2 separate regions of the Homo sapiens genome follow, and region 2 is linked to region 1. The links are contacts of gene promoters, found by promoter capture Hi-C in human tissues and cell types (Jung and others, 2019). All regions are on one chromosome and are shown on one strand. The core of a region is centred on a gene start or on the middle of the fragment in contact, and the rest is flanking DNA. Distances in the headings are between cores, read along the strand shown. Region 1 holds the start of FAM162B (family with sequence similarity 162 member B). Region 2 has its middle 93 kb from the start of RFX6.

Evidence for each region. Contacts are between HindIII fragments. The study calls those that stand out against the background at their distance.
Region 2: a contact is called between a fragment that was not itself captured here and the fragment with the promoter of FAM162B in region 1, in 1 of the 25 tissues and cell types used here (thymus).

The regions. Positions count from the first base shown.
Region 1 is chr6:116,762,218-116,767,928 of GRCh38, reverse strand. FAM162B (family with sequence similarity 162 member B) reads left to right here and starts at 2,210. Exons shown (of 4, transcript NM_001085480.3): 1 at 2,210-2,524; 2 at 2,674-2,782. The coding sequence starts at 2,353. It overlaps LOC105377963 (a long non-coding RNA gene), which reads right to left and starts at 1,561. Exons shown (of 3, transcript XR_942910.3): 1 at 1,390-1,561; 2 at 1,208-1,286; 3 at 1-863. RefSeq lists an enhancer at 2,675-3,189. The HindIII fragment of the contact is 7,101 bases long and covers 1-4,432 here.
Region 2 is chr6:116,967,615-116,973,024 of GRCh38, reverse strand. No RefSeq gene overlaps it. Among named protein-coding and RNA genes, the nearest start is that of RFX6, 93 kb to the right of the region's middle. The HindIII fragment of the contact is 4,188 bases long and covers 1,888-5,410 here.

The DNA of each region.
Region 1 (5,711 bases), core at 961-3,460:
ACCTGTAGTTCTGCAATACTGGAGAAGCTCGAAATAGAAAATCCTGTGTATATTTATGACATTTGATTCCCTCCAGGGAAATAAACTTATTTCCCTTGTTTAATATTTCTTAGTGAATTATTAACGATTGGTTGTTTCTCAGTGATGGCTTTCTCTAGCTCTATGGATACTCCCTCTCAGTGATGTGAAGACAAATAAAATACTAATAGAAAAAACCACATTTAAATAATGCAAGAATCTTCAAGTACCATAATGCTGGAGCAATATTAGCTATGGCAACATACTTTCTCAGGCAGGAATTCATTCAGTTGAGTTTTATAAACACTTATTTGGAGACCGCTATGTGGTAAGCAACATGATAGACACTGAAAGTATGAAGTTTAAAAGGACATAGAATGTCCTCAAGCATCTCAGTCTTTTCGTAAACTAGCCTAGGTGCAGACTATTCTGTTTTCGAAGACTTGTATTCATCTATTCATTTATTTAACAAATACTTATTAAATATCTACTAAGTGCCAATTTTTCAGCTATATCTTGGGAATATAATCACAACTCCTGAAGGTCAGGGAGCTCCTAGTTCCCCACAGGAGATTTCATAAATTAAAATGCCCTTGTGTTTTGGGACTAAAGAATGTGACGGGGAAAGAAATCATTATCTTCTGAAGTATTATTACACACCAGGCACATTTAGAAGGACATTGCTAACCATGGTTTCTAAATATCTTCTCACTCTACTCCTGCTTATTCTTTTTCACCTTGTTTTATTTTTCTTCATCTTCACCTGATGTCATCACTGCTCCATCCCCAGCTCTGAGAGGTAGCTGGCACGTAGCTGGTTACTGGTAGTCATTGCATGAATAAACCTAAAAGATAGGAATTCTGGTTTTACAAAAGAGACCAAGACTTATAACTTAAATGATTTACTGCTCATGATTGTGCAACTTTTAAGTCACAAATCCGGGATTTAAACCTAGGTGTGAAGGCAAAGCCCATGTTCCTTCTGCAAGCGCTCCTCTAAATGTATGTCTTCACAGAGCTATTAACCCCTCTTTTTTTGTTTAACACGGTTATGTAAAAAGAAAAAAAAACTGAGCTGGCAGTTACAGAAAAGTTATAGCTTTCAAGAGCCTGACAGTCTAGTTAGGAAGCAAAATATCTAGAAATCCAACAAGTGCAAAGCAGTGTCTAGATAAGGAGGGAAACTCACAGGCAGTAATAGCAGAGGAGGGTGAGCTCGGCCTGGTGCTGGGCTGATGAGCACTTTGACTTGGCAGGAGGTCTGTTGTCTGTGGAACAAGATAAGTAAATTGCTTGTACAACCCTTCTCTCCAATCATTGAATCTGAATCCCTGTTACCATTTAATGCCTGAAAATAGTAGATTCTTTTACCTTTTAGCATAGAGGAGATGGTGGAAGGTGACAGAAGAAAGGCACATTTTGAAGGGAGTGTGGAGAGTTTGTGGGCTAAGAGATGAAGAGGTAGGAAGCTGGCATGGCGGCTCATACGTGTAATCCCAGTGCTTTGGGAGGCAGAGCCCAGCTGATAGCTTGAGGCCAGGAGTTGGAGACCAGTCTGGACAACATAGTGAGATCCCATCTCTTAAAAAAAAAAAAAATAGCGGAGCGTGCTGGCGCACGACCAAAGCCCTAGCTACTCTGGAGGCTAAGGTGGGAGGACTACTTGAGTCCAGGAGTTCGACGTTACAATGAGCTATCAGCATGCCACTGCACTTTAGCCTGAGTGACAGAGCCAGAGACTGTCTCTGAAAAGAAGAAGAAAAGATAGAGAAAGGCACTTGGAGGAATTGAGATTGTTTTCCGTAGGAAAGAGAAAAGGTATGGGGGTGGGAGACGATGAGGTGAGGAGCTAACTTCAAGAAATCTCATCCAGAAGTTAGTGGAGTGCCCTTAACACTTAATTGGGAAATGTCTTCAGTTTCCTGCACTTGAAGGATTGTTGTCTCTTCCTGGAAGAGAGGATTTAGATTTATTCTCCTGGGGAACAAACGATGGAATCAAAGGCTAAAAGCCTGGCGGGAATACATTTCTACTCAATACAAAGAATTTAAAAGGAGCTACACGCACTGCCTCAGGCGGTGGTGAGCCTGTTTCAAACAGAGGCAGGCTGCTTCCTGAGGAACCAGCCCCTCGGGGCTTGACGCCCTGATCCCGGGTCGCTGGCCGGGGGCGGAGACGGGGATAGCGAGCTGAGTGTGCGAGCGCCAGGGGTTCCAGCTGCACGTCCCAGGCTCTCCAGCGCGCGGCAGGCCGGGGCGGGACGAGGAGAGCTGCGGGGACAACGCCTGTGGCTGGGTCCGGAGGTGCGGGTGCGGCGCGGGACAAGCGGGCAGCATGCTCAGGGCGGTCGGGAGCCTACTGCGCCTTGGCCGCGGGCTAACAGTCCGCTGCGGCCCCGGGGCGCCTCTCGAGGCCACGCGACGGCCCGCACCGGCTCTTCCGCCCCGGGGTCTCCCCTGCTACTCCAGCGGCGGGGCCCCCAGCAATTCTGGGCCCCAAGGTCACGGTGAGCCAGGGCTCCGACGGGGAGGTCCTGGGAGGGAGGAGGTTGCGGGAGGGCAGCGAGGGGCCGGCCCGGGAGTCGGCTTGAGGGCGCGCTGATCCTCTGTGCCGGTGCGTCAGTTCCCGCGTCCATCTGGGTTGCTTTCGCTGCAGGGGAGATTCACCGAGTCCCCACGCAGCGCAGGCCTTCGCAGTTCGACAAGAAAATCCTGCTGTGGACAGGGCGTTTCAAATCGATGGAGGAGATCCCGCCTCGGATCCCGTAAGTGTGGCGACCGCCGCGCGAAGGAGAGTCGGTCCCCGGCCGCAAGGGTGCGGGGTGACCCACCTTCCGACCGCGGCCACCTAGGAGCGAAAGCGGCCGCAGTGCCAACACTTCGCAATATCACCCACCACACACGGAGTTTACCCACACACACACCCCGCCTCCAGTGCGGTGTGTCAAGAGTCAATTAAGCTTACAGGGAGATTGCAGAAGGTGGGTGAAAACTGAGAGGTTCAGGGGACACTTCCAGCACCGCCCAGATTGCCGGTCCCCAGCAAGCTCCGAACTGGGAGGCAGTGGGGCTCTTGTGCCAAACAGGCCACGGTCCTCGCGAGCATCCGGATGGCTGCCGGGACGCCAGACCGCAATCCAGGCTTTGGCCGGGGGCGTCCCCCTACCCCACCCAAGGAAGGGGTTCTCTGATCTTGGCTTGCGGGGCGGCTGTGGCGGGGGGGTCTCTGGAAAAAAGACGCATCCATGCGGCCTCCTCTTCTGGGGCAGGAGACGCCTGGCGGACGTGTTTCTGCAGCCCTCTAGGCTCCGGGTTTACTCAGGGTGGGACGCGCGGGAGTGTCAGCACTGTGGGCCTCTTCAGCATGCTAAACCCACCAAGACAGATGATAAAACTCAAACTAATAACTCCCCCTCTAAGGTAATGTAACCTGTAAAATAAATGCTAATAATAAGTAAATGTAACCTGTAAAAAAATCTTTCCAAAGTTTCTGTTTCTGCCAAGCCCAAAAACCTTCGCAGCATTTTTACAAGGGATTGGGTAAAAAAGAGAGGGACGGAAACTAAAAATAAAATCAATCTACTACTTTTTAAGTTTATCTTTTAAAAATAAAAGACTAAAACCATAACGTGAAAGAAGGATTTTAGATATTCTGTATATTTGTACAATGTAATGAATGCCTATTAGAATGGATAATGGAAACTGGGCCTATATTTCTGTTTTTCACATGGTGCCTGCCATGTTATTGTTTATAAACAATTGCAGTTTATCAGTTACCAAAGCATCTCAGATAGCTAGGGGGTGGGGTGGGAGAACATGGCAGGAAATGTACACTCAGTAATGAATTCTGAAGCATTTTCGTTCTTTTATTGGAGCAAGTCACCAAATGAGAAATGGACATGGAATTTGAAATAACACTGCATTTGAATCCGTTTTCAGTATTTATTCAACTACAGAGGCACTTTCTAAGATTATTTTTCCTCGAGATCTATAGACTCCAAACTACAGACTTAGCTGAAAGCAAAAGTTAGCCTCAGAAAAGTCTTTATCATCATAAGCTCTGGTTATCAAATTTTAATTGATGCCTGAAAATTTAATACTATAAATGCCAAAGAAGTAAAAAAAAAAAAAAAAATTAAAATAAGTAAGCCACCACCCTCAATTGGTTTGAATTTTTATTTCTAGTGGCCTAACCAAGTAATCAAGAGTGTAAAGAACCAACATTATTGCATATTGTTTGTCAAGAAAACCTATGCCCAGTATTGCATTTAACATAGCTGTATTTGTGAACAGACTCATTTTACAGAAATAATGTAATTTCCCCAAGATCATAGTCAAAAGATGTATTATAAACAGGAGCATTTCACTAAGAACAGGATGCCTATAAAAAGCATTGCAGTTTTGCATTGGAAACATAAAAGTATTTGAGTATTTTTCATTTTATTATTTTTCTATAACTTTTTAAGCATTACTATTTAAGAGAGATATTCCTGTTAAGCTAAGTGTCACACTTACAATGTAAACAGCTTTTACCTTTTAATGGACATATAATGAACAAGTGACCTATAATTTTTGTATCATACACTAATTGTGTTTAATAATAACTGTACTTTGTCTTGTTTTTCTCAGTGCTAAACTAATTTGTTATAATAGATTAAAGCCAAATGGCTGGGTAAAAAAGATCAGAGCTTCTAGGTTCCATCTGGAACAAAAGTTAGCAGCAAATATAATCTAATAATTTCTCCATACTCACTAATTGGACCTGTTTGCAACTAACATCTTAAAACTTACATCACTCTGCCTAAAATCTAAAGAAAATAGGCTAGATAGGAGTTTTCTGTAGTCTTTTAACCAGTGGAAAATTTAAAAAGTTTTCTGTTTTTAAGAGAAAATGCAACTTTGTCTTTCTGGATTTTTTTTTTCAATGTAACTACACTCTATTTAAACTGCACATAGAGAGGAAAGAATACCAATGAATATATTATAATGAATGAAATTCTTTAAATATGCATATTTATAATCTGCCACTTCATATCATTGAAAATTGTTAAAGTTTATTTCAACGTAAAAGTCCCACAGGCATGATGCCTTTTGTATTACTACTTTGTAAGTAGTATTATTAAAATCTTGGACAACATGCATAAAACTATGAATGAATATTTAGAATTTAAGTATATCAAATTTCAGTATAATAATAACATTAAAATGAAGGTCTCTTTTATCTTTTTCCTCGGCAAATTATTGTGATTTTGATCACGTTTAACAAAAAATTATTGCAAAAGCCATGAAGGAAACATTTTTCTAACAGACATTCTCACAAGCTGGATAATAGTGTGTCTTTTGGGGGTAGCATGTGAAGGGACAAGAGATTGGGAGGCGAGTGAAAAAAACAAAATGATAAAAATGAGTTTTAAAAAAAAAACTGTTCAAATGGAAAACAAAGCCTACTTTACAAAGAGGCTAAATAATTGCAAGTCATCAACATACATATGCTTTAACTCTTCCTTTACCCCACTTAGTGAATAAAAACAATGGAGAGTCAAGTTAGCATCTCTAGTAGTTATATTTTGAGGAATTAGAAACTAATATTCTATACAGTGGTTTCATAATGGCTAACATTAATTTAAGATCTGAATAAATACTTGTTAATTTGAAATTGGTAAAAATAACTAGCTAGCATTTCAAAGTCTTTCA
Region 2 (5,410 bases), core at 2,732-5,231, 200 kb before region 1:
TAATGCAGACTGGAGGTAAAGCCTTTAAAAATATATAATGTCCTTTCATAAGTTTTCAGGAAGTGAGAATCTTTGTATAAAATCAGGCTGGGTTATTGACTCAAGAATTCTCCCATCTGCCGAATCTAATCAGTACAGCAAACATCTTCAAATTATTCTCAGACACTGACACAGGCTTATGAAATACATTCCTTTCTATTATTTCCTGATCTTGTCCAACTTTGTACACTTTGAACCTCTAGGATTGGAAATCAATCATGCTGACAACTCATGTTATTTTTTAAAAAATTAATACTATTTGCCAAATCTTGAAATATTTCTCCCAATTTTCATCAAAAATGAAATGTTATTTATTATGGTAATGTTTTTGGAGTTGTTCGTCTGTAGTTTCAAATAATGTTGGCTTAAAATAATGTAGTTAAATATTTTGTATTTCAAAATAGCTATAAGAGATGAATTCAAATATTCTAACCACACAAAAATGATAAATATATGAGTATGCTGAAAACCCTGATTTGACCATTACACAATATATACATGTATCAAAACATCATACTGTACTCCATAAATATGTGCAATGATATGTATCAGTTAAAATAAATACTGAAATAAATTTTAATGTAGTTTGAAATGACCTGAATTTGTTGAAATTGCTGTTATAATCAGAACTACTTTAAAAGTTTAAATTTTTATTACTTTAAAATTAATAGAATTATAAAGTACAATTAAAGCTTAGATAATTCTGGAACCCAAGTACAGTTTTATAAAAGTAGGATATTTAATTTAAAATGCAAAAAAATGTCTATCAAACTAGTGCAATGAGACATGGATGACAGGTCAGATTTTTGAATTTTTGGGGCAGTGCTGCCCTCTAATGACAGTATTGAAGAACTTGCTTTATTTGGTCATTACTTAACAGAAAGTTTAGCCTCACATTTTCATTTCTGGTTACACATTAGAATCACCTGGGGACCTTTTAGAACAGTCTCCATTCCCATCCCCCAGAAACTCTGATGTATTCATCTACGTCCTGGGCATTAGTAGTTCTTATGCTTTCCTGGAAATTCAAATATGCATCATTTTAAGAAATGCTAGTTTAGGCAGAGAAACAAAGTATTAACAATACCAAAAAAATTGTATCCCAGTCCCCAGAGTATCTAGCACACCAGTGATCACCGGTCTCTTTCTGTTCTGCAATACCATTTTCAGGGACCTGGCTTCTGACCCCCCAAACTCCCTGATTAGCCATTGGCCAAGTTATTACATAGGCACAACTAGGTATAAACATACCGACATAAAGAAACACAGTATTATACATTCACAACTGCAGAAAAAAAAACAAAAAACTTTTCCTTCCAATTCCCCTGCATCTCAACTTCTTGCCAACTTCCAAACAAAAAAAAATAGCTTCATTCATTATTATAATTCAGAAGGCTTTAAAACTGATGACAATGCTGTTGGGAAGAAAGGGGAACAAAAATGGGAGGATGGCATTAAAAACAGGAGTGGGAGGTCTTTTTTATCTTGTGTATGTTTCCTGTCCTCCCCATTGCAATATAATTTTAATAATAAAGGAATTTTTGTCTGTTTCAGGACAATGCCTGGCACATAGTTAGCACTCACAGGCATTGTTTAATGGATGAACAAATAAATGAATGAATGCATGAATGAGTAGGTTTATGTTTGAGACTGGGTGAGAGAGAGAAAAAATAGAAATAAATATTTAAGGCTTTGGGAGAAGGAACAGGTAACTTCCCACTGAAGGAAAAAAGATACCTATCCAAATGAAAGGTTGAAAATACATATCACTGTAAAAAAGGGAAAAAAATGGAATAAGAATAATGGAAAAGCAAATTTATAATTAATTGGTAGAAACCTGTGAATTGTGTCAAAACCCAACTATTCCAAAACTGACCTTAAAGGTCATTTAAAGACACATGATTAGAAACAAAATTAATTAGTCACTTTTGGAGGGTTTTAGGGAACCACCTCATTATTTTGATAATTAGTAAATAGAAGGTAAAAATTAGTAACTTGTCTTTCCTACACAAACTATATCACTGGGTAACCAAACATAAGTATTTTTCTGTAGAATAGTCCAGTTATTAAGTACATAAGAAATTATTGAATTAGCATATCATTACTATCATTATCTTCCAACCCACAATGAATGAATTAATTGTTTAGGCATTGAGCATCAACAGCTGCTAACAGGACAAAGGAGTAATCATCAGACTCTTGATACCTCTTGATAGACGAACACACCACTACCTATAAAGTAATCTTGCTTAAAAAATTCAACCTATTTGGCAAGCCTCTAGGCTCAAATACCAATATACAGAGGACAAAAAAAAACTTATTAAAATATACAGAGGTGCAATCAGTAAAATCCAGAAGAAGGAAATTCTATGGGACAAACAATCTGGCTTCCTCAAAAATAATTGCAAAGAAAAGAGAGTTGGAGAAGAAATGTGTAGATTAAAATGTCTTAAAATACATATCAATGAGGCACAATTTGTGAACCTTACTTTGAAATTAATTCAAACAAATTATGAAAAATCAATGATTCATAGGGCATTAGAATTTGAACACTTACTGGATATTCTATATTAAGAAATGTTAATTTTAAGTCTAGTAATAATATTATAGTTATGTTCATTCTATATAGTGAACTATATATAATAGATATTATATATTAATTAATATAATATATTAATATAAAATATATATTATATATTAATATAAATATATAAATATATAATAACAGTATATATAAATATATATTAATCTGTATATAATTAATGAATAATAGTCTAGTATGTTTTAGAATACATACTAGAACATTTATTAATGAAATAATATGTGTGATATATACTTGAAAATAATGCTACAGGAGAAAGTTAGACACTGAGGATTGGACCTGTGTCAATAACTGTTGAAGCTGGGTGGATGAGTGTGTGGAGGGTGGTACTATCTTTTTCACTTTTGTATAGGTTTGAAATTATCCACAATAAAATTTTTAAAATGATCCCATGATAAAAGCTTCCTGATTAAGATGGAAAGAGGAATTAAGGAGGGATGTTTATGACAAACTATTTTAGAAATAAAGAATAAAAATGCTTTTAATAGATTTTACCTGCCCGTGGTGAGCTGTTCAATCATTCTTACTGTTTTTCTCTGAAAGTTTTTAAAATAATGCAATACTTGCCATTGAAGCCAGCATGCCGAGAGCATTTCCATTTGCAATGAGAAAGAAGGAAGCACTCACTGTCCTTGCTGTGAGATTTACAGAAAGAGAAAGGGGAGGAGAAGTTGCGCAAGTCTTGCTGCTGTAGTACATGCAGAATACTTATTCATTATTTCTAGGAATACTTACATATCAATGCTATCAAGGTGTCTACAGCTGGGACCTTTTGCTTTTATTTTTCTTTCCTATGGAAAATAAGTTATGCTGGATTTTCTTTTTTATCTAGCAATATAAACAGTCAGAAATATAAGAGTTGGCCTTGTTCTCCCCATTCCATCAAAATGGCATTGCGTACTTCAGTGCAAGTGCTTAATTCATAGAGAGCAGGTTAAATGAATGATTTGCAGTTTATGAATCTGGGAATCTACTCTTGTAGATCCAGCAGGGGGAGTAGTGAGCGTAGATTTGGCTTCTCAAAAGAGGATGAGGCTATTTGAACCAGACAGATTGTAGATATACTGTTCTCTTATTAACCTGTTTCTTACTTCACCTCTATTTTATAGACTCTGACTCCTGATTGATAAGTGAGTATCTATAGCAGACCTGTTTCGTTCTTACCCCACTGTAATACAAAGATTATTCTGATAATATGCAGCCAGGGGGCATGAATCCAAGATTCTCCTTTTTGTGGTCTAAATTTCTCTTCGGAGCTAGAAAATTCCTTTGAATTTTCTCCCCTTATTTAATTCTCCCATAGCTTTTCCCACTTCTCCATTTCTGTTTCCTCAAAGCCTGACCAACAGTGAGGTAGAAACCATTCTACTTTCGATTAAGGACAGAGATTCAGACGGGAAAATAGTCTCTGCTGTTTCCAACCCATGTCCCTTTACATACCCCCATGATAAATTTGGGACTACAAATCTCTCCCAGAGAGGCCCCAGACAAGTAAACCAGTTGCACCTTCCCATACATTCAGGCATCAAAGCACAAGGGATGCCTTTTGCTCAGAACTGAGGGGCAATTAGCTGCATTGGACAGGGAGAAGCACTAGGCACCTTTTCTACTTGCTGCCTTTGAAAATGAACCAAGCCACAACAAGAAAGGCTTAAAGGGACCCTAGTAACAGCTGATCCACTTTGGCCTAGCTAGTAACACTCTAAGAACACAGCAGCCCAGCTGTTTTCAAATCCTCATTCTATAAAAAGCAAGGGAGTCAAGCTTAGCTGCCTCAGTGACAGTGAGTGAGGGTCAGCTCTTCTGTAACATCAGCTGCCTCCTCAACTGATCCTTCTTCCTGCAGGACACAAGGAGAAGAAAACTCAAAACGATGTACCTCCATTAACATAATTGTTATTGTTTAGCACAAAGTAAACTTGTCCTCACAGTCTCTCTTGTAGAAAGAATTCTTGCATCAGAAGATCTGTACCCTACATTAGTGCTTCTTACACTTTGGTTTACATAGGACTCACTTGGAGATCTTGTTGAACTGTGGTTATGGAGGACGGCCAGAGATTCCAAAAGGGCTCAACCTGGCTTTTCAAAGTGTGGTCCATGGATTAGCCCCATCAGCATCACCTAGGAGCTTGCTAGAAATATCAAAGTGAAATAGTGCTACCATTTTTCCCCTTTATGTTCAAAGATCCCTGATGCTGAGGCAATCATAATCATAATAGTAAAATAATAATAAAAATAATAGAAAAATAGTAATAGTAAAATAATAATGATAATAATAAAATACCGTTGATGAGTGCTTACTGCATTAGTCATATGCAATACATATGACTATGTAAATAGTCAGCAACTATTTATATAATAACTCTAATGCAATTATCATAGTCCTCAATTTGTGCATAAAAAAACTAAAGCTCAAAGAAGATAATTTATCCAAAATCACATAGATGGGAAATGTTCCATCCAAATCTATTCAGCTGCAAAGCCTGGACTCTCTCTTTGCCACTCCATGCTACCATAACTGAGATCTTTCATCCTACCACTAACCCACCACAACATTCCCTGACTGCTTCCCCAGACTCACCCATTGCTTGCTCTTCCCACTGATTTTTTTTTCATTGCTCTTGCTTAGTTTGCAACATCTGCATATGATTTTCTGCAATACAGGTGGTTAAGAGTGGTCATTCATTCTTAGGGCAGTTTCTCTGTACTTGGTTCAGTTGGGAGAGATCATTGTACCTTTTGAGTTTACCAACTGTCCAATCTTTATTT